Linked DNA regions of Homo sapiens: regions 2, 3, 4, 5, 6 and 7 are each linked to region 1. The links are contacts of gene promoters, found by promoter capture Hi-C in blood cells and fetal thymus (Javierre and others, 2016). All regions are on one chromosome and are shown on one strand. Each heading gives the region's core, a stretch centred on a gene start or on the middle of the fragment in contact. The rest is flanking DNA. Distances are from core to core; before and after follow the strand shown.

What was found. Contacts are between HindIII fragments. The CHiCAGO score rates a contact against its expected background, and 5 or more counts as called.
Region 2: a contact is called between the fragment with the promoter of CAMTA1-DT here and the fragment with the promoter of C1orf174 in region 1, in 11 of 17 cell types (naive CD4 T cells, naive CD8 T cells, non-activated CD4 T cells and 8 more). The highest score is 23.1, in naive CD4 T cells.
Region 3: a fragment that was not itself captured here is called in contact with the fragment with the promoter of C1orf174 in region 1 in 1 of 17 cell types (naive CD4 T cells); the score reaches 8.0 in naive CD4 T cells.
Region 4: the fragment with the promoter of THAP3 here is called in contact with the fragment with the promoter of C1orf174 in region 1 in 3 of 17 cell types (neutrophils, total CD4 T cells and naive CD4 T cells); the score reaches 14.0 in neutrophils.
Region 5: a fragment that was not itself captured here is called in contact with the fragment with the promoter of C1orf174 in region 1 in 1 of 17 cell types (neutrophils); the score reaches 7.5 in neutrophils.
Region 6: a contact is called between a fragment that was not itself captured here and the fragment with the promoter of C1orf174 in region 1, in 1 of 17 cell types (non-activated CD4 T cells). The highest score is 5.3, in non-activated CD4 T cells.
Region 7: a contact is called between a fragment that was not itself captured here and the fragment with the promoter of C1orf174 in region 1, in 3 of 17 cell types (activated CD4 T cells, total CD8 T cells and naive CD4 T cells). The highest score is 8.7, in activated CD4 T cells.

The regions. Positions count from the first base shown.
Region 1 is chr1:3,898,944-3,901,708 of GRCh38, forward strand. It overlaps C1orf174 (chromosome 1 open reading frame 174), which reads right to left and starts at 1,329. Exons shown (of 4, transcript NM_207356.3): 1 at 1,229-1,329. The coding sequence starts at 1,243. LINC01134 (long intergenic non-protein coding RNA 1134) reads left to right here and starts at 1,461. Exons shown (of 4, transcript NR_024455.1): 1 at 1,461-1,688. RefSeq lists enhancers at 421-991, 992-1,560, 1,561-2,130, 1,770-2,029 and silencers at 1,080-1,149, 2,230-2,409. The HindIII fragment of the contact is 4,148 bases long and covers 29-2,765 here.
Region 2 is chr1:6,783,574-6,786,338 of GRCh38, forward strand. CAMTA1-DT (CAMTA1 divergent transcript) reads right to left here and starts at 1,407. Exons shown (of 3, transcript NR_149049.1): 1 at 1,085-1,407; 2 at 576-650; 3 at 319-472. It overlaps CAMTA1 (calmodulin binding transcription activator 1), which reads left to right and starts at 1,881. Exons shown (of 23, transcript NM_015215.4): 1 at 1,881-2,002. The coding sequence starts at 1,958. RefSeq lists enhancers at 247-923, 924-1,598 and silencers at 724-783, 864-923, 1,054-1,463, 1,804-1,963, 2,174-2,443 and 1 more. The HindIII fragment of the contact is 4,377 bases long and covers 1-1,632 here.
Region 3 is chr1:6,702,600-6,705,364 of GRCh38, forward strand. No RefSeq gene overlaps it. Among named protein-coding and RNA genes, the nearest start is that of DNAJC11, 2.2 kb to the left of the region's middle. The HindIII fragment of the contact is 1,441 bases long and covers 729-2,169 here.
Region 4 is chr1:6,623,465-6,626,229 of GRCh38, forward strand. THAP3 (THAP domain containing 3) reads left to right here and starts at 1,404. Exons shown (of 6, transcript NM_001195753.2): 1 at 1,404-1,490; 2 at 1,686-1,828. The coding sequence starts at 1,755. It overlaps PHF13 (PHD finger protein 13), which reads left to right. Exons shown (of 4, transcript NM_153812.3): 4 at 1-566. RefSeq lists a silencer at 1,795-2,204. The HindIII fragment of the contact is 4,820 bases long and covers 60-2,765 here.
Region 5 is chr1:6,606,101-6,608,865 of GRCh38, forward strand. The region is part of intron 1 of LOC107984913 (a long non-coding RNA gene); the gene reads right to left. Among named protein-coding and RNA genes, the nearest start is that of KLHL21, 4.6 kb to the left of the region's middle. The HindIII fragment of the contact is 3,900 bases long and covers 1-2,765 here.
Region 6 is chr1:6,418,728-6,421,492 of GRCh38, forward strand. It overlaps HES2 (hes family bHLH transcription factor 2), which reads right to left and starts at 1,192. Exons shown (of 4, transcript NM_019089.5): 1 at 1,049-1,192; 2 at 880-975; 3 at 514-613; 4 at 1-426. The coding sequence starts at 1,093. The coding sequence ends at 146. The HindIII fragment of the contact is 3,974 bases long and covers 1-2,765 here.
Region 7 is chr1:6,194,320-6,197,084 of GRCh38, forward strand. The region is part of intron 2 of RPL22 (ribosomal protein L22); the gene reads right to left. Among named protein-coding and RNA genes, the nearest start is that of RPL22, 3.9 kb to the right of the region's middle. The HindIII fragment of the contact is 2,380 bases long and covers 165-2,544 here.

The DNA of each region.
Region 1 (2,765 bases), core at 79-2,578:
ACTTGGAATTAACCTAGTACAAATCTGAAGCTTAAGATGTATATGGAGAATATGAAGATTAAGCTGTATACGGTAAAACATAAAGCACTGGAAAAAACCCAAAAAAGTTGTGGAAAAAAAATCATTAAATTAAAATGCTACATTAGGAAATATTCACTTTAATCCACTTAAAGAAGGAACAGGGGAAGAAAAAGACAGACTTGTATAAAGAAAAGAAAAAGTAAAATGGCAAATGTAAACCTAACTACAGTGTATCAATAATATTAAATGTGCATGGGCTAAACAATTCAATCAAAAGGCAGAAACTACCAGACTGCATTTTAAAAAAGATCCAAGTATATGTGCCTACAGGAGACAAGTTTTGGTTCAAAGATAAAAATAGTAAAAGGAGTTGGAATTCACAAGTGGCCACTCCATTTGAACAAACCAGGAGAGCCTCCATGCAGCTCAGAGCCTCCCAAGTGGACCGGGACCCGCGCCGGGTCCACTGTGAAAAGGGTCCTTCGCCTTAACTGTTACACCCACGCAATGAGCACTTGCCCCTTGCCAGACACTGGCACCCCCCTTCAATCCTCACCACCCTCTTGGTGGATCCCTCATCACCCCACTTTTAGCACATTCAGTAGATGGGGCCAAGCTGAGGTCACTTGCTGTGTGACGTCCATTGGAGTGGCAGCAGTTGAGGGGCACAAACTCAGCTCTGCAGCATCTAGCACTACCAGGAGTTGAAACCAGTTCTGGAGAGGGTGCCCCACCTTCCTAGGAAAGTGGCCCGAAACCTCCCTTCAAGGGGGCGTGACCTGGGAGCCCCCTGTTGCCCAGGACGTGAACTGTGAGCTCCACTTCTCCCGAGGGCGTGGACCGGAGCCCCCCTTCTCCCGCGGGCATGGCCTGGGAGCTCCCCTTCTCTCGGGGGTGTGGCCCAGAGGCCCCATTCTGCGGGGGTGGGTAACCTGGGAGCCCCCTTCTCCCGGGGACGTGACCTGTGAGCTCCACTTCTTCCGAGGGCGTGGCCCGGAGCCCCCTTTTCACAGGGGCGTGACCTGGCAGCCCTCCTTCTCCCGGGAGCGTGGCCTGGAGCCCCCCAACTACTGCCGGGGGCGAGGCCCAAGCGGAGGCCGCTCCTAGGCCACAGGCACCCCGTGACCCCGCCCCGGTTCTCCAGACAGCAGGTGACCCAGAGTCCCCGCCCTGCCCGGCGCAGCTGCTGCCGGGACCCAGCCCTCACCTTCCGGCTCCTCATGAGTGTGAGCACCGCAGCCAAGCACCGCGCGCCCCGGCCAACGCGTCCCGGCGGAGCGGCGACCCGGAGTCTGCAGAGCGCGCCGCGGCGGCGTCCGACGTCAGCACAGCCAATCACAGTGCAGCACCCTCGTCATGTGATTCCCCCCCCCCCCCCCCCCGTGTTGGCTCTTTCGTAAGCGGCGGGCGAAGGTCACAGGCCTTGGGCCAGTGGTGGGACACTGGAGCAGGAAGTCGGCCTGTGGCCGGCCATGTTCATGAGGGCGCGTCCCTTGGCACCCCTGTAGCCGCTATGTTTCCCACGCCCGTGGCAGGCCTGAGAGATTATGTTTGCGGGGGGTGCTTTTTTTGTAGCTTCTGTGTTCGCCATATTTGAAAGGGGCAGACGGCCATGTTCGTGAACGGCGCTTCCCTTGGTGCACCTGTGGCCGCCATGTTTGAGCGAGGTGGGCAACTATGTTCTTGAGGGGGGAGCAACCATGTTCTTGAGGGGCTCTTCCCTTGAAGCCTCTTTGGCCACCATGTTTGAGAGGGGCAGACGGCCATGTTTGTAAGGGGCGCTTCTCTTGGTGCGCCTGTGGCCGCTATGTTTGAGAGGGGCAGGCAACCATGTTCGTGAGGGGCGCTTCCCTTGAAGCCTCTTTGGCGCCATGTATGAGAGGGGCGGACGGCCATGTTTGTGAGGGGCTCTTCCTTTGGTGCGCCTGTGGCCGCCATGTTTGAGAGGGGCGGGCGGGACGTCCGTGAGGGGCCCCTCCCCTTGCATCCCCTGGCTAACAGCCTGCAGGAGGGCGGGAAGTGCTTTCTCCAGTGCCGCAGAGCGCTGGTTTCTGAGTGCCGGTTAGCGGCCTTGAGCAGCGCGAGGGACTCCCAGGCCTGCCCGTGCTGCGGTCCCGCTGGGGAGCTTTGCGCGCTTGTCGCAGGCTGTGCTGCCCCGCGACATGCCGCTTTGGGTTGGGGTGGCCCGCCCGGGAAGTGGCCTCAGCTGTCCCCCACGTTGCGGGCGGGAGGGGGCCTTAGTGGAGGCCGTCGGTGGGCCCAGGAGGCCAGGGTCCGGCGTCGGGCTGGGGGCCGGTTTTCGTCCCCCGTTACGTGCAAGGCGGGAAATGACCCCTCCGCCGTCCCGTTACTCTCCGGGGCCAACGTGGACTCGCAGGGGCCACGCCTTTTCCAATGGCCACGCCCCTAGCAGGCCTGGGTGGACCCGCAGCGGCCACGCCTCCTCCAATGGCCGCGCCCTATCAGGTCTGGATGGACACACGGCGGCCACGCCTCCTCCAGCAAACACGCCCCTAGCAGGCCTGGGCTGCTGTGATGCGTCCTCTTTGGCCGCCGCTGAGGGAGGTGTTTGTAAAGCTGAGGACCACTGTTCTGTTGTGGGTTTTTTTGTTTGTTTGTTTGTTTTTTGAGACGGAGTCTCGCTCTGTCACCCAGGCTGGAGTGCAGTGGCGCGATCTCAGCTCACTGCAACCTCCGCCTCATGGGCTCAAGCCATTCTCCTGCCTCAGCCTCCTGAGTAGCTG
Region 2 (2,765 bases), core at 157-2,656, 2.9 Mb after region 1:
TTCACACATACAGCTTTTCTGGCATTTAGTGTTATTTCCTTAGAACAGATTCCCAGAAGTAAGATCACTGGGTCAAAAGATGCAGACATTTTTATGGCTTTTAATACATACTGTAAAATTGCTTTTCGAAAGGAATATACTAATTTACAATGCCACCAGCACTTCTTTTAAGAATCCGTTTCTCCACACAAATCGTCAACATAGGTGCTATTAAGAATGCTAATCGATAAAATATTGTCCCGCCGTTGTTAAAATTTTGCAATTTTTGAGGCTCATAAAATTAAAGTTTCTTGAAGAATGAGTGTGTAACACAAAACATTCTTTTGGGACATCTTTATTTCTGGAAAACCTAAGACATTCTTACTTGTGAAGACCAGAAAAAGAACACATGTTGTTAGGATTGGCACAGAATTCAGTGTGACAGTCAATCTTAATGCCAGAACACTTGAACGAGGATTTTTCACTTATTTTGCTAGTTGTCACCAACAGTAGCAAAAGGAAAAATAAAATGCGGAAGAATGAAATGTTCTTACTGCAAACCGTACAAGATCACATTGAGGGGCTGGAGCTCTTACATTCAACTTTTCTTTCCTTTTTCTTCTTTTTAAACAATTTGCGATTGCAGCCTCTCCTTTTGTTTCCGGTATTACCTGCCCAGGAGCAGAATTCCTTACTTTCTCCGGAGAGAGGCCGGTCCCTGGGAGCGCTGCCCAGCCACCCGCACGCCTAGCCGCCCCGAGAGCCGCACTCGGCGGACCCGGTTCCTAGGCTCGTTCCCGGGGCACCTGGCGGGCGCCCACCTCCCGGGGGGCACGTGCTCCCGTACGCAGCGCGAGGGCAGCGGGTGCCTGGCTATTTATTAGGAAAAGCCCCGCGCGGACTCTCCGGATTGAGGAGGGTGGGAAACTCGGCTGCCCAGCGCTCCACCCGGGCGGCCGGGGCTGGCGCTTCTCTGCTTTCGGCCGGCGGCCTCATCCTGGGACAGGCAACCATGAGTCATCCGCTCCGCGGGTCACATGGGCAACGTGACCAAAATAAAGTTTCGGTATTTTAAGCCGCCAGAAAAGGGGACAACGGAGCTCACCGGGGGCGGGCACAGGAGGCGGGCGCAGGCGGGCGGCGCCGGGGCCGTGGGGACGCGGCGCCGAGGGGGCGGGGCCTGGCGGGAGGCTCGCCCCTCCCCCACGGCCGGCAGCGACGCCCGGACTCCTAGGCAGTCGGACTCCAGGGCGCGGCACCCCTGCGGACCTCAGCCCCGAGGCCCCCCGCGTCCGGCTCCCCACCGGCAGCGGCGGCGGGCTGCGGGATCCCGGAGATCCCGGCGCGTCCCCCACAGCCACCGGGACCCCACGCGCCAGCAGCGGCTTCCCCGGGAACGTCCTTCAGCCCCGGGAGCACGCGGGAAAAGCCCCAGCGTGCCAATGAGGGAGCGCCTTCCTCATGACGGTCACGCTCGGGGGCGGGGCTTCCCTTCGCCGCTCCCGAGTTCCGGGAACCCCCTTTGATTGGTCTGGACGGCCTGGGAAACACTGTAGTGACGCCCAATCAAAACGCCACGTCTCGGCCTCGAGGAAATATTCCGTGTCGGGCCCGTCCTGATTGGACAGTTCTTTCGGGTTCTGGCCACTAGGAAGCTTTGTTTAGGTCCGGAAGGCGGGCTTTCCTGGGAGTGGGTGGGGAGGGGGCGTTGATTCTTGACCAATCCTTTCAGTCCGTTGGGTGGTGACCAGCCAATGGGCCGGATGGATAGGACGCTCCTCCCGGAGAGTAGTGAGACCCCTGGTGCGGGGCGATTGGCGGCGGGAGCGATGAGTGGCAGCCGCACGGCCCAACGGGAGCTGTGCGTGGGCCGCGGGGCGGGGCCAGGGCGGGTGCGCGGCGGCGGCGGGGTGGCTGGGCCGGCGGCGGCGGCGGTACGAGGCGCGCGCTCGGGGTCCCGGTCGCGAGGAGGAGGAGGATGTGGCGCGCGGAGGGGAAATGGCTGCCGAAAACAAGCCGGAAGGTAAGAGCCGGAGCGCGAGGGGCTGGGGGGCGGCGCGGCGGGCGGCGGGACCCGGCCCCGCCGGACATCCCGGGCATCGGCGGCGCCGGGCGGGAGCGCGGGGGCGCGGCGGGCGGGCGGGCGGGCGACCCGGCCGGGGAGGGGGCCGGCGGGGTGGGGGGGCGGAGCGCGGCCGAGTCCTGAGGTGACTCGCGGGGCCGGCGGAGCGCGGCGCCCCACACCCCACCCCCGGGGGCGGGCTGGGGCCGGAGGGGGCGGGGGGCTCGCGGGGCGGGGACCGGGCCCAGCGAGGAGGAGGAGCCGGCGGAGGGCCGGCGCCTCCCCCACCCGGACCGGGCATCCCCGCCGCTCCCGAGCCCGCTGCGCGGCCCCCGCACCCCCGGCGCTGGGTCCACGGTGGGGGCCGCGGGGCGGAAAGTTTATCCGCCTCGGGTCCTCCTGGCCCCGCGCCCCACTGCTCCGGGCCGGTCCCCGTCGGGCGGCAGCGGCCGGCGCTCAGCCCTCGCCGGCCCCCTGCTCTCCGGCGGGCAGGGCCAGATGTACTCTCTCCGGCACCCTCTTCAGCCCCGTGGACACCTCCCTGAGCGGGCGGGGGGTCCCCGAGCTTCTCCCCGCCAGGGGGACCCCGTCCTGCCGAGCGTCCCTCGGCCGAAGGGCCTCGTGTGACCCCTCCCCCTTCGCTTCCCGGGAAGGGAAGGGGGCCTGCGCAGCATCCCCGCCCCTCGCAGTCGTTCACATCCTACTCTTGCCCTTGCACCCTCAC
Region 3 (2,765 bases), core at 199-2,698, 2.8 Mb after region 1:
CCTACCTCCATTGTCTTTTCTCTTGGCCACCCAGAAGCCTTCCTGCCCAGAACAGGCCTCCTCATTTTAGTTATTTGTTATTGCTCTAATTTAGGAGCACCTGGCCATCTTTTCTGCTGCTTAAATGACAAAGCAATAACTATTTGGTTCCTGATATAATTGTCTCTGGCAGGCATGTGTACCTGCAGTCCCTACCCCAGAGCCATTCTCCTGTAAATTTCTCCCTTATAATTTATCGGTGGAGTCTAATTGATTTCAACCTGGTGCCTGCTGTTTGGTGCATTATTAAAGATGTCTTGGTTACAACAATCTAAATAATTTAAAGGTCTTCGAAATGACGCCATTGTCAAGGGAAGGTGGACAGCAGCCCACTCTTGCCACCTGTTTGGTTCCCGCTGACCTGCGCAAGTCTCAGAAACCTTTGTTGTTCCTTCACTAACCACCAGTCCATAGCCATCCCCGTTGCCCTTCATAAGCAGGTCTCCTGGGAAGCCCCGAACACCTGTCTGTGGATTTGAGAGGCTGATTTCTTTCTCTTTCTAATTTTTGGCCAGATGTGCACCATCTGGGCCTGTGTCTCATCCCTTCCAAGTTGCCCAGCCCTCTTAGGATCTTTTGGCATGAGACACTTCGGTGTGCTGAGACAGATTGTTCGGGTGGGTTGAGTCAGCCTGAAACAAACTGTCAGCCCAGGTTGTAAATTAAGGGCTATTTCTTTAGTTGTGTGAAGCTTCTCCACAACAGCTTCCATGGTCCATCAGCTCTTCCAGCAATGTTATGGGCTTTGCCTTTTTCTCCTTTGCAGAGAAAAGAGCTGTGGTTAGGGCCAAACTGCATGCTGACATTTGACAGTCTTTAAGAATTTCTTTCTTTTTTTTTTTTTTTGTTTGAGACAGAGTCTCACTCGGTCGCCCAGGCTGGAGTGCAGTGCCACGATCTTGGCTCACTGCAACCTCCGCCTCCCGGGTTCAAGCGATTCTCCTGCCTCAGCCTCCCAAGCAGCTGGGACTACAGGCGTGCGCCATCACGCCCAGCTAATTTTTGTATTTTTAGTAGAGACGGGGTTTCACCATATTGGCCAGGCTGGTCTCGAACTCCTGACCTCGTGATCCACCTGCCTCGGCCTCCCAAAGTGCTGGGATTACAGGCGTGAGCCACCGCACCCGGCCAAGAATTTCATACAGAGAGACTGGGGGTAAAAACAACAATGTGGAGACATTCCTTTTTCCCTTAGGTTTTTTTTTCTTTTTTCTTTTTTCTTTTTTTTTTGAGATGGAGTCTCGCTCTGTCGCCCAGGCTGGAGTGCAGTGGCACGATCTCGGCTCACTGCAAGCTCCACCTCCCGGGTTCATGCCATTCTCCTGCCTCAGCCTACTGAGTAGCTGGGACTACAGGCGCCTGCCACCACGCCTGGCTAATTTTTTTTTTTTGTATTTTTAATAGAGATGGGGTTTCACCATGTTAGCCAGGATGGTCTTGGTCTCCTGACCTAGTAATCCACCTGCCTCGGCCTCCCAAAGTGCTGGGATTACAGGCGTGAGCCACCGCGCCCGGCCTCCTTAGGTTTGTAGACATTAATTGGGCCATAATGCTTACTTGGGTAGAGAAGTTCTTTGCCATCCCTCCTCTGCTTTGGAAAACACAGCCTCTAGGAATTATATAAATGGAACATAACATATGTTTCACTACGCCCAGGTCTGTGTTTCTATGATTGAGAATGACCTGGTTTTTATCACCACTCAAACAAGATAAATAGTGACTCAGGAATGCTCTGTGGCTGTCCTCTCTTGGGCCCACGAGATTTTGTGTTATGGTTACTTGGAAAGTGGTGGTGATAAATAGAAAGCTAACTTAGATGCTCCACAGGCTTGAGGAATGTATCTGTTTCTGAGGCTGGCTCTCTCGTTTCTCTCCTCCAAAACCCTAATCTTCAACGGGCAAAATAATGGAAACCAAAGGCAGTACAAATTTATAAGTTAAAAACGCACATCCAACAAACTACTTACGCCGAGCAACTGACAAAACCCAGCTGCTTTAACTCATGCCTTGCACTTTGTTTTCTTTTTCTTTTCTCTTTCTTTTTTTTTTTTTTGAGACGGGGTCTCCCTCTGTCACCCAGGCTGCAGTACAGTGGTGCAATCATGGCTTGCTGCAGCCTCCACCTCTTCAAGCTTAGGTAATTCTCCCACCTCAGCCTCCATAGTAGCTAGGACTACAGGTGCCCGCCACCATACCTGGTTAAGCTTTGTATTTTTTGTAGAGACAGGGTCTTGCTACATTGCAGGGCTGGTCTGGAACTCCCGTCTCAAGTGATCTGCCCGCCTCAGCCTCTCAAAGTGCTGAGATGACAGGTGTGAGCCACCGTGCCTGGCCTTTTGGTTTCTTTTTGTTGGGTGAAACCACAAAACAGTCTGTAACATAGCTGTAAAGCAAAACTTAATAGGTGACATTTAAATATAAACTGATGTAATATATTTATGTAACTATACATACATGGGCATATGTATTTTATATTTACGCAAATATTATATGAGATATACGCATTTATGCAACTGCTAACAAATTCTCTCATCTTTATTTTATTTATTCTTTTGAGACAGAGTCTCACTCTGTTGCCCAGGCTGGAGTGCAGTGACATGATCTCTGCTCACCACAACCTCCACCTCCTGGGTTCAAGTGATTCTCATACCTCAGCCTCCCGAGTAGATGGGATTACAGGCATGTGCCACCACGCCCAGCTAATTTTTGTATTTTTAGTAAAGACA
Region 4 (2,765 bases), core at 154-2,653, 2.7 Mb after region 1:
CCACGTGAATAACCAGCGCTCCAAAGTGTTTTTCTGCTTTGAAAAAAAAAAATTCCACAAGCTTTTAAAGGTGCATTTAAGAATCCATGTGACTTTAGAATGGAACTGCCGGCCCTGGCAACTGTCACGTGTGCTAGAAGGTTCGATGCCTCTGGAATGCATGTGATACTCATCTCCATTTTGTTTCCTTGATTGCATTTTTGTTCTTTTAGCAGATCTGTCCCTGTGGGTGGTGTCTAAGAAGTCGGACACCTTGGTTTTTGTGTTAGATTGAGCTGGGCAGCTGCAATCAGCTTCTTTATATGCAAATTAGGCACGACCCATCTGTGGTTCCTGGTTGGTGGCTAATGAAGTGAGGGGAGGGAGGGATGTCACCCCAAAAGTAGGCCCTCCCATTGGCTTTGGCCAGGCCAGACACTTCACATCGTTTACATGGTTCTGTGTAATTTTAAAGTTTATGTGTATAAAGCGAAGCTGTTTCTGTGAAACTGTATATTTTGTAAATAAATATATTGCTACTTTGAGGTTCATGATTCAAGGTTCAGGCGATTGCGTTCTGTGCTGAAGGACAATTGTGTTTCTTTTCTCCTTGCTACCTCCCCAAAGCATGATTACATCAAGTCTCTGGGAAGGCAGCGTCTCAGTGTGCACTTAGCAGGATGGAAAATGCCCACGGTGTTAAGGTACCTTGCTGGTGAATTCCTTAGAAACAAACCACAGGACGAGTAGATGTGAATGGTTTTTGCAGTTTCTTCATCAGATTGAGGATTAGCTCAAGCCCCAGTGAGTGGTTAGCCTACTTTTGATTTTTTTTTTGTTTTTGAGACTTGAGTTTCGTTCTTGTCACCTAGGCTGTGAAGTGCTGTGATGAGATTTTGGCTCATTGTAACTTCCACCTCCCGGGTTCAAGAGATTCTCCTGCTTCAGCCTTCCGAGTAGCTGGAATTACAGGTGCCCGCCACCATGTGCGGCTAATTTTTGTATTTTTAGTAGAGATGGGGTTTCACCATGTCGGTCAGGCTGGCCTTGAACTCCTGATCTCAGGTGATCCGCCTGCCTCGGCCTCCCAAAGTGCTGGGATTACAGGCGTGAGCCACTGCGCCTGGCCGATTTTTTTTTTTTTCTTCTTACAAGATGACGCCTTCCCTATAGGCTGCTTTGAGAAAGCTGCAGCCTCGGAGTTTCTGCAAGGCCTGAACTGGAATCTCCCTCCCCTTCAGTTGCCCTTTTTGCCTCTTCACGTTTGGGGGTTCCCTGTGACCAAACTTAAGGGCAGTGAGCTGTCTGGCCTCTGAACTGACACCACCAGTGGCCAACTAGTACCACCTCCAGTGACGTCAGAGGAGTCCAGACCTATTCACAATTCAAAGCCCTAAAAACACTGAGGGGTTGGCCGTTGGTTTCCAGTTGTCCAAGCCTGTGAGTGGCTATGCGTCCTGGTTGGGTGCTCAAAGCAAGGAGGTGAAAGGCGACCAGCATTGGCGAATGGGGTAAGACTTGCACAGGCCCAAGGCTAGGAGTTGGGGTTTCGGGCCTGAATTGGGGCCCGGAGCACCCCTTTACGTGGCGCCCCGGGTCCCGTCCGACCCTGGGGAGACGCGGGTGGCTGGGATGGCAGGATGAGCGCGCCCTGGAGGCGAGCCAGGCCCGTCACCACCTCCCAGCGGCCCCGCCCCTCCCCGCAGGTCCCTCCCCTCTCCGCAGGCCCCGCCGCCGCCGCCATCTTTGTTGGGGGCAGCCAGGCCTGGCTCGAGATGCCGAAGTCGTGCGCGGCCCGGCAGTGCTGCAACCGCTACAGCAGCCGCAGGAAGCAGCTCACCTTCCACCGGTAAGAGGCGGGGACCCGGGGGCGCGGGAGGCCCAGACCCGGGGCCCGCGGACCGACTCCGAGGCCTTGGCGCGCCGGGCGGGAGGCCCAAAGGCGTGCGGCCGCTGGGCCCGGGGACAGGCCGAGGTCCTGGGCCCAGAGGGGCTGGCGCCGCCGCGCCCGCCGCGGGGATGCGGGGAGTGGCGGACGGAGGGGCAGCGGCGCACCTGGCGGGGCCAGGGCCGGGACGTGCAGGGAGCGGAGCAGGTGTTTGCTGAACAGACTAGCGGGCCGCGGCCGGGGTTTGCTGTGTCCCTGGTCGCTGCAGCCCCCGCCGCGCGCGGTCCTGAAGGGAGCCCGGCACCTGGGCAGTGCAGTGGAGGAGTGGAACCCCCAGGGGCGTCCTGGCAGTGGGAAGGGACTCTGCAGGGTCGCGGGAGGACGCTGGAGACTTTGGAGTCTGCTCCAGCACTCGCCCGGCCCGGCCCGGCCCGGCCCAGGAGCAATCGTCATTAGTCACAGTTGCGCTTTCTCCAAGGTCCAGTCACGGCACCATTTCTCTACCCACTTTTGGGCACATTCCGAAGGGGGGCTTGTGCTCATCGTTCCCATTCCCTCTGCTCCCATTGTTCTGTTTTGTGATAAATGCTTTGCTTGAAGTATACGTAATGTACATGCAGAAAAATGCACGAATCATAAGTATACAGCCCAGCGAGTTTTCCCCAAGTGAACGTCACTGAACTGAAACGTTACCAGCTGGGCGCGGTGGCTCAAGCCTGTCATCCCAGCACTTTGGGAGGCCGAGGCGGGAGGATCGCTTGAGCCTGGGAGTTCGAGACCTGCCTGGGCAACAGAAGGAGACCCTACCTCTACAAATAATTTAAAAAAATTAGCCAGGCAAGGTGGTGTGCCCCTGTAGTCCCAGCTGCTCGGGAGACTGAAGTAGGAGGATCGCTTG
Region 5 (2,765 bases), core at 150-2,649, 2.7 Mb after region 1:
CCAAAGTGCTGGGATTACAGGCATGAGCCACCTGGTCTGGCCATGTTACCTTTTTTATTGAGACAGGATCTCCCTCTGTTGCCCAGGCTGGAGTGCAGTGGCACAATCTCAGCTAACTGCAACCTCTGCCTCCCAGGCTCAGGTGATCCTCCTACCTCAGCCTCCCCAGGAGCTGGGACTACAGGCGTGAGCCAACACGCTTGGTTAATTTTTTAAATTTTTTGTAGAGACGGGGTTTCGCTGTGTTACCCAGGTTGGTCTTAAACTCCTGGACTCAAGCAATCCTCCAGTCTTGGTGCTGAGCCAAAGTGCTGAGATTACAGGCATCAGCCACCATGCCAGACCCTAAGGTCATTTTAAAAGTGGCTGTTTACAGCCTGGCCAACGTGGTGAAACTCCATCTCTACTAAAAATACAAAAATTAGCCAAGCGCGGTGGTGCACATCTATAATCCCAGCTACTCCAGAGGCTGAGGCAGGAGAATCGCTTTAACCCAGGAGGCGGAGGTCACAATGAGCTGAGATCATGGGACTCAAGCATGGAGGACAGAGCAAGACTCCGTCTCAAAAAAAAAAAAAAAAGAGCAGCTGTTATTCTTTTTTTTTCTTTAAGAATATTTAGGAACACACTCCTTAGCCTTGATTACGTCCACAGCTATTGTGCCTTTTCTTGTATCATATCATACACTCTGATTTTTTCAGATTCCAGGTTTTCTAAGGTATAATGCACTTACCATATATAACTCCTTTTTTTTTTTCTTTTGAGACGAAGTCTCCCTGTGTCGCCTAGGTTGGAGTACAGTGGCGCAACCTCAGCTCACTGCAACCTCCGCCTCCTGAGTTCCAGTGATTCTCCTGCCTCAGCCTCTCGAGTAGCTAGGATCACAGGCACGCACCACAACACCTGGCTAATTTTTCTATTTTTTGTAGAGATGGCATTTCACCATGTTGGCCAGGCTGGTCTTGAACTCCTGACCTCAGGTGATCTGCCTACCTCAGCTTCCGCTGGGATTACAGGCATGAGCCATTGTGCCCAATCTAAACATTTTTTCTTTAAGGAATGTTGCGCTATTCTCTATTTATTAAATGCATTTACATATGTAAATGAGATAGGGTAAGTAAAAACATTTAAACAGTGTTTGACATATAGTATTAGTTATTATCTTTTTTTTTTGAAACAGAGTCTTGCTCTATTCCCCAGACTGGAGTGCAGTAGCATGATCTCGGCTCACTGCAACCTCCACCTCCCGTGTTCAAGCCATTCTCCTGCCTCAGGAGAGTAGGTGGGATTACAGGCACCTGTCACCATGCCTGGCTAATTTTTGTATTTTTTTGGTAGAGATGTGGTTTTGCCATGTTGGCCACGCTAGTCTCCAACTCCTGACCTCAAATGATCCATCTCCCTTGGCCTCCCAGTGTTCTGTGATTACAGGCGTGAGCCACAGCACCCCAGCCTTTAGCTATTAACTTTCTTTTTTCTTTTTTGGAGACAGAGTCTTGCTCTGTTGCCCAGGCTGGAGTGCAGTGGCGCAATTTCGGCTCACCACAACCTCTGCCTCCCAGGTTCAAGCGATTCTTCTACCTCAGCCTCCCAAGTAGCTGGGACTACAGGTGTGCGCCACCATGCCCAGCTAATTTTTATATTTAGTAGAGACGATGTGTCACTGTGTTGGCAAGGCTGGTCTCTAACTCCTGACCTCGTGATCCACCTGCCTCGACCTCCCAAAGTGCTGGGGTTACAGGTGTAAGCCACCATGTCCAGCTTAGCTATTACCTTTGTATTCTACCAGTATGAACTCAAGAAACTCATTTGATTCTTCTATCTGTAGGTCAGATTCACTGTGTGAAACACTGACAATATATGGTCTATAAATTATTAATGATTTCAAATGATTCACACACATATTCATACAGTTTTCAAGTTACTAAAAGCTGAAAAGAAGATTTTGTGGAATTTTCACTTTTTTCCCATCTCCTGGAAACGGAAGTGAGCAAGGCAGAAAACAGAGGGTAAAAAGAATTCCTAAGAATATACTGGGCTGGGCGTGGTGGCTCATGCCCATAATCCCAGCACTCTGGGAGGCCGAGGTGGGGAGATCGTTTGAGACCAGGAGTTCAAGATCAGCCTGGGCCATGTGGTGAAATCCCTTCTCTACAAAAAATACAAAAACAACCAGCACTTTGGGAGGCCGAGGAGGGCAGATCACGAGGTCAGGAGATCAAGACCATCCTGGCTAACGCAGTGAAACCCCATCTTTCTAAAAAAATAAAAAATTAGCCGGGCGTGGTGGCGGGCGCCTGTGGTCCCAGCTAGTCGGGAGGCTGAGGCAGGACAATGGCATGAACCCAGAAGGCGGAGCTTGCAGTGAGCCGAGATCGTGCCACTGCACTCCAGCCTGGGCGACACAGCAAGACTCCGCCTCAAAAAAACAAAAAACAAAAACAAAAAACAAAATAAGCTGGATATGCTGGTGCATGCCTGTAGTCCCAGCTACTAGGAAGGCTGAGGCAGGGGGATCACCTGAGCCCAGGAGGCCTAGGGTGCAGTGACTATAGTGAGCCGTGTTCGAACCACTGCACTCCGGGCTAAAAAAAAAAAAAAAAAAAAAGGCTGGGCGCAGTGGCTCAGGCCTGTAATCCCAGCACTTTGGGAGGCCGAGGCAGTCAGATCACCTGAGGTCAGGAGTTTGAGACTAGCCTGGCCAACATGGTGAAACTCTGTCTCTACTAAAAATATAAAAAATTAGGCTGGGTGCCGTGGCTCAC
Region 6 (2,765 bases), core at 97-2,596, 2.5 Mb after region 1:
AGTCACAAACAGCCGGCTTCCGGCCTGGGTGTGGGTACTGGGCTGGCCCCTAATGATGGGAACAGCAGCCGCCACCAAGAGCTTCAACCTGTCCAGTGCCCCAAGGTCCCAAGCAGTCGGCAGGGTCTGTGGATCGGCCGAGGGGCTACCACGGCCGCCAGAGGCCAGGGCCGCAGGGAGGCGAGGGCGGCGAGGGCACCGGAGCGGATGCGGGCTCTGGGGCAGACGCGGGCGCTGGGGCGGGGGCAGACGGGCCACTGGAATCCCCAGCGCGCCCGCCGTCCAGGGTGGCGCTGGCCGCTCTCCGCCACAGGTGCTCCAGCAGGCGCGCGCTCACGGCGGGCTCCAGGACACGGCAGGCGGGCAGCACGCGGGCCAGGCGCGCCACACAGGCGCTGTAGCCCTCGCGGTAGCTGTCGCAAGGCACTGCGGGCGGAGAGCCGCGTGAGGCGCGGGGTAGGGTGCCGGGTGCGGGGTGCAGAGCGCGCGGCAGGGCAGGGAGGGCTCACTCACGGGGCGCTGCCGTGGGCCATGAGGACGCAGGCAGCTCCTGCAGGAAGCGCACGGTCATTTCCAGGACGTCTGCCTTCTCTAGCTTCGAGCAGTTGGAGTTCTGCGCCCGGCCACGAGGAAGAGCGACAGAGAACCACCAAGACAGAACTTTGGCCGGCTACCGTGCGCACCCTCGCTCTAGTCGGGAGCTGGGTGTGGGGCGCGCCGTGGCCTGCTGGGGGTCCGCTCCGACGCGCCCACCCCACCCAGGCTCCGCCTCGGGCGCCGCGCGGAACCCCCTGGTGGGTTCCTCCCGCAGGAGCACCCCGTCCCCCTGCCCCCGCTCCGCGCCCCAGGACCCTCTGCCCTCCGCCCGGGCGCGCTCACCTCCCGGCCCAGCAGCGGCAGGATGAGCCCCTTAAGCTGGCTCAGGCTCTGGTTGATGCGCGCGCGCCGGCGCTTCTCCAGCAGCGGCTTCAGGCTCTGCGGACGGGCGGCGCGGTGGTTAGACGGGTCCCCGGAGTCCCCAGCCCCGCCCCCAGTCCCCGGTACCCACCTTGCGCAGCTCCGCCGCGTCCCCTGCCCGGCGAGGCAGCCCCATGCTCCGCGGGGAAGCGGTGGCAGCTGCGAGCCCCACGCAAAGGGAAACCGAGGTCCGAAATGAGGTCCCGGGCGCGGCCCGGGCTGGTGCCAGACGAGTGCGCGCCCCGCCCGCGGCCGAGCTTTAAGGGAGCGGCTCGCCCGCCCCGCCCCGCCCCGCGGAGTCCGGCCGCCCGCTGGTCCCACCTCCTGCCTTTGTTCCTGCGCAGGGTGGAGCCGGGAGGGGAGACCGCGACGCCCCCGGGGATCCCGCTCCCCGCCTTTGCGTCCTGTCTACCGCGGGGTGGCGGCCCCCAGTTTTCCCCGAGCACCTGCGGGAGAGTGGTAAAGGCGCCATCGGGGGCCTTCGCTGCGTGACCCCGAGGGCAGGAGGGCCAGGTGGGGCCAGGCCTTGCCTGACTGGAGCTACGGTCCCTCCTCTCCAATGCTGCCCTTCATTCATTCCCCAGGCTCGGGTTCAGCGTCTTCTCTGAGCCCCGCCCTGGGCCGCAGCAGGGGACCCAGCGGTTACGGGAGCTCCCATGAGGGACAGCAGCGGGAGGGACTTGCACCCCCAGCTGCTTTATCGGGTGAAGGGCTGAGCTGGACGGGAAATCCGAGTTCCGGAGAAAGGTCGTGACTTGCTCCAGTCCTCGACGCTGGGAACAGGCCGAGCCTGGACAAGGGCCCCAGTCGCTGGACGCCCGGCTCTAAGGAGCCCGTAGAACCCTTCGGCGGCTTGCCTAGTTAAGAGTCTTTTGGTTACCCCACTCCAGGCTTTGGGTGGGGAAACGGAATCCTAGAGAAGCAGAGGCAGCCCTGGAGCCCTCGGAGCTCGTTTTCATTCCCACCGGCTAGGGGTCCGGGTTCTCGCCCGCAAGACAGTCAGGGCTCATGTGACGCGCGGGCAGGACAGTTTTGGGTGCGGGCCCCAGTGGCCCGCCCAGGACCGCCTTCGCGCCGCGTGGCCGTTGCTGCGGCAAACTGGCTGGCGTCCCCCGCCCATCTGCTCCGGGCTCCCCTCCCCCGACCGGCTGGCGGGGCAACGGCCACGCCCGCGAACCACACTGCGAACTGCCGGGCAGAGAGATGACTGGAGGGATCCACAGAGCCAGCCAGGAGGAGTTCCCCTATGGGGCGGGGCCAAGGAGGGCTCTGTCCAGGGTGTTGGATGAACCCCCTGTCCCCCGAACCCCACTTCCGAGCTCCACCCCTGCCGCTAGCCCCACGTCTCCCTCCTTCAGGGTTCTCGCCGCAGGGTGGAAGAAGGCCAGCGAACACACTGAGGGGCCCGGAGAAGCCTGGGCCAGGGGAGCCCAGGCCACCCATACCTATCTGTGGCATGGGAAGGAATGTAGGCCACCTTTCATGGACACTTACTGTGTGCCAAGCTCAGGGCTTAACGCTTTAAGGCTCGCTAACCTGCATTAACCCTCATAAAAGACCTAACAAGTAAGAATAAATCCTTCAACAGATTTGGCCCAGCAGGGCTTGGAGGAACCTGAGACCTTGTTCTCCGTGGTTGAGGCCAGTTTGACTCCATAGGCCTCCCCTAAGACAATTAATTGTTCTTTAAGAGCTCAAAAAACTCTGTGGATCTTTTCCCTCTCATCCCCAGGCCAAGCGACTTAGCTTGGCTGACTCAGGTCTGCACCCACAAGTCCGCCTGCAGCATCTGCATCTTGGGGAGGGAC
Region 7 (2,765 bases), core at 105-2,604, 2.3 Mb after region 1:
CAACCTAGTAGAAAGAGCAAAGACATAGGGACTGAAACAATTCTAGACCTGGTCCAGGGCCATGTGTGGTACAGCAGAAGCAGCAGCCACTCAGGAGCCTGAGATATTCTCTGCAAACTACTGTGTGGGCCTCAGCAAGACATTCACCTCCTTGTGCTTCAGAAAGCTTTGCCCAAAAAGGACCTTTTTAGTTGTTTTCTTGCTATGGCAATGACATGAAGTCCCTTTCAGCTCAAAATTCCTATAATTTTCTGTTTAAAAACTCCAATACAAAATATGTTAACTGGCTGGGTGCAGTAGCTCACACCTGTAATCCCGGCACTTTGGGAAGCCAAGGCAGGAAGATTGCTCAAGCCCAGGAGTTCAAGACGAGCCTGGGCAACTTAGGAAGACCCTTCCTCTACAAAAAAATTTAAAAATTAGCTAGGTATGGTGGTGCATGCCTGTGGTGCCAGCTATTCCAGAGGCTGAGGTGGGAGGATCACTTGGGCCTATGAGGTTGAGGCTGCAGTGAGCCAGGATCATGCTACTGCCCTCCAGCCTGGACAACAGACCCTTTCTCAAAAAATAAAAATTTGGGAGACTGAGGTGGGCAGATCACGAGGTCAGGAGATCGAGACCATCCTGGCTAACATGGTGAAACCCTGTTTCTACTAAAAATACAGAAAATTAGCCAGGCGTGGTGGCGGGCGCCTGTTTCCCAGCTACTTGGGAGGCTGAGGCAGGAGAATGGCATGAACACGGTAGGCGGAGCTTACAGTGAGCCAAGATCGTGCCACTGCATTCCAGCCTGGGCAACAGAGCAAGACTCCGTCTCAAAATAAATAAATAAATAAAAATTTGGGGCCAGGCGCGGTGGCTCACGCCTGTAATCCCAACACTTTGGGAGCCCGAGGCAGGCGGATCACAAAGGCAGGAGATTGAGACCATCCTGGCTAACACGGTGAAACTCTGTCTCTACTAAAAATACAAAAAATTAGCCGGGCATAGTGACAGACACCTGTAGTCCCAGCTATTCGGGAGGCTGAGGCAGGAGAATGGCATGAACATGGGAGGCGGAGCTTGCAGTGAGCCGAGATCACACCACTGCACTCCAGCCTGGGTGACAAAGAGCAAGACTCCGTCTCAAAAAAAAAAAAAAAAAATTTGGCTGGGCACAGCGGTTCATGCTTGTAATCCCGATACTTTGGGAGGCCGAGGCTGGCAAATCACCTGAGGTCAGGAGTTCAAGACCAACCTGGCCAACATGGTGAAGCGCCGTCTCTACCACAAAAATACACAAATTAGGTGGGCATGGTGGCACACGCCTGTAATCTCAGCTACTCGGGAGGCTGAGAAAGAGAATCACTTAAACCTGGAAGGTGGAGGTTGCAGTGAGCCAAGATCACACCATTGCACTCCAGCCTGGGTGACAGAGTGAGATTCCACCTCAAAAATAAATAAATAAAAATAAAATAAAATGGCCAGGCGCAGTGGCTCATGCCTGTAATCCCAGCACTTTGGGAGGCCGAGGTGGGTGGATCACCTAAAGTCAGGGGTTCGAGACCAGCCTGACCAACATGGAGGAACCCCATCTCTACTAATAATACAAAAATTAGCCAGGCGTGGTGGCAGGCGCCTATAATCCCAGCTACTCGGGAGGCTGAGACACCAGAATGGCTTGAACCAGGGAAACGGAGATTGTGGTGAGCCGAGACTGCACCATTGCACTCCAGCCTGGGCAACAAGAGCAAAACTTGGTCTCAAAAAACAAAGTAAATAAAATAAAATAAACAAAAAGTATACATTAACCATAGATGGGGCACAGAGTGATTAGGTCAGAAATCTTGAATTCTGCATCTCAAGATTCATAAATGACTTAAGTTTTCTATCCTAAGGAGGCTTCCAGAAGGAAAGACAATCACACAAACAGATGAGTGGGCTGAGGGAATGGCTCAGAGGGAGGGAGGCAGGAATAATGCCAGAACAGGGCCACCATGTGAATACCAAACTGGAAGACACCAAAGTTGAAAAAGAGGAGGCCACAGAAAAGCCAGAAGTCACTGGATAGAGAAAGAACTAAGGAAATAGGGGATTTCTTGAAGGACACAGATGCAAACAGCATCTACATAAAGGCAATAAACTATAAGAGGTTACCTAAATTCCATTCTGGATAATTCGTGACCATAATTATTTTGTGTTTAAAAATTATTTTTGTTGTAATGATACTGATCCTGGCAATAGTTCAACCTTCTGGAGAATTTAGAGCAAATGCAAATTTAGGAGACTTCTACACACAAATACGAAGTCTGAATCCCCCAAACATGGCTATTAGAGGAAAAAGAATAAAATGTCAAAACCAAACTGCTGAGTCAAAATGTGGCGGAAGGATTATTTAATATTTCTAGATTGCAATAGGATAGAGGAATATTGGGGAATGGGCCAAATACAGGGGCAAAAAATCAGCACAGAGCAAGATCTGAAGAAAAAAAAAAAAGCTCCAATTACAATTCAGCAAGCAGGGTACTTTAAACACTGAAGCTCAGATGCTTCATAATATAGAAAAGCTTCGGGAACTGCTGCCACCTGTCCAAAGCTCCACATCAAAGCAGTGAGACCCAGGACAGAGGCAGCCCATAGTCAGGATCAGGGTCCCTCACTTATGCTTAAACACACCAAACAGCAAGGGGGATGCCATGGACCCAGTGAAATTTGTCTGTTTCTCAGTAACTTTTTTTGTTTTGTTTTTGAGACGGAGTCTCGCACTATCTCCCAGGATGGAGTGC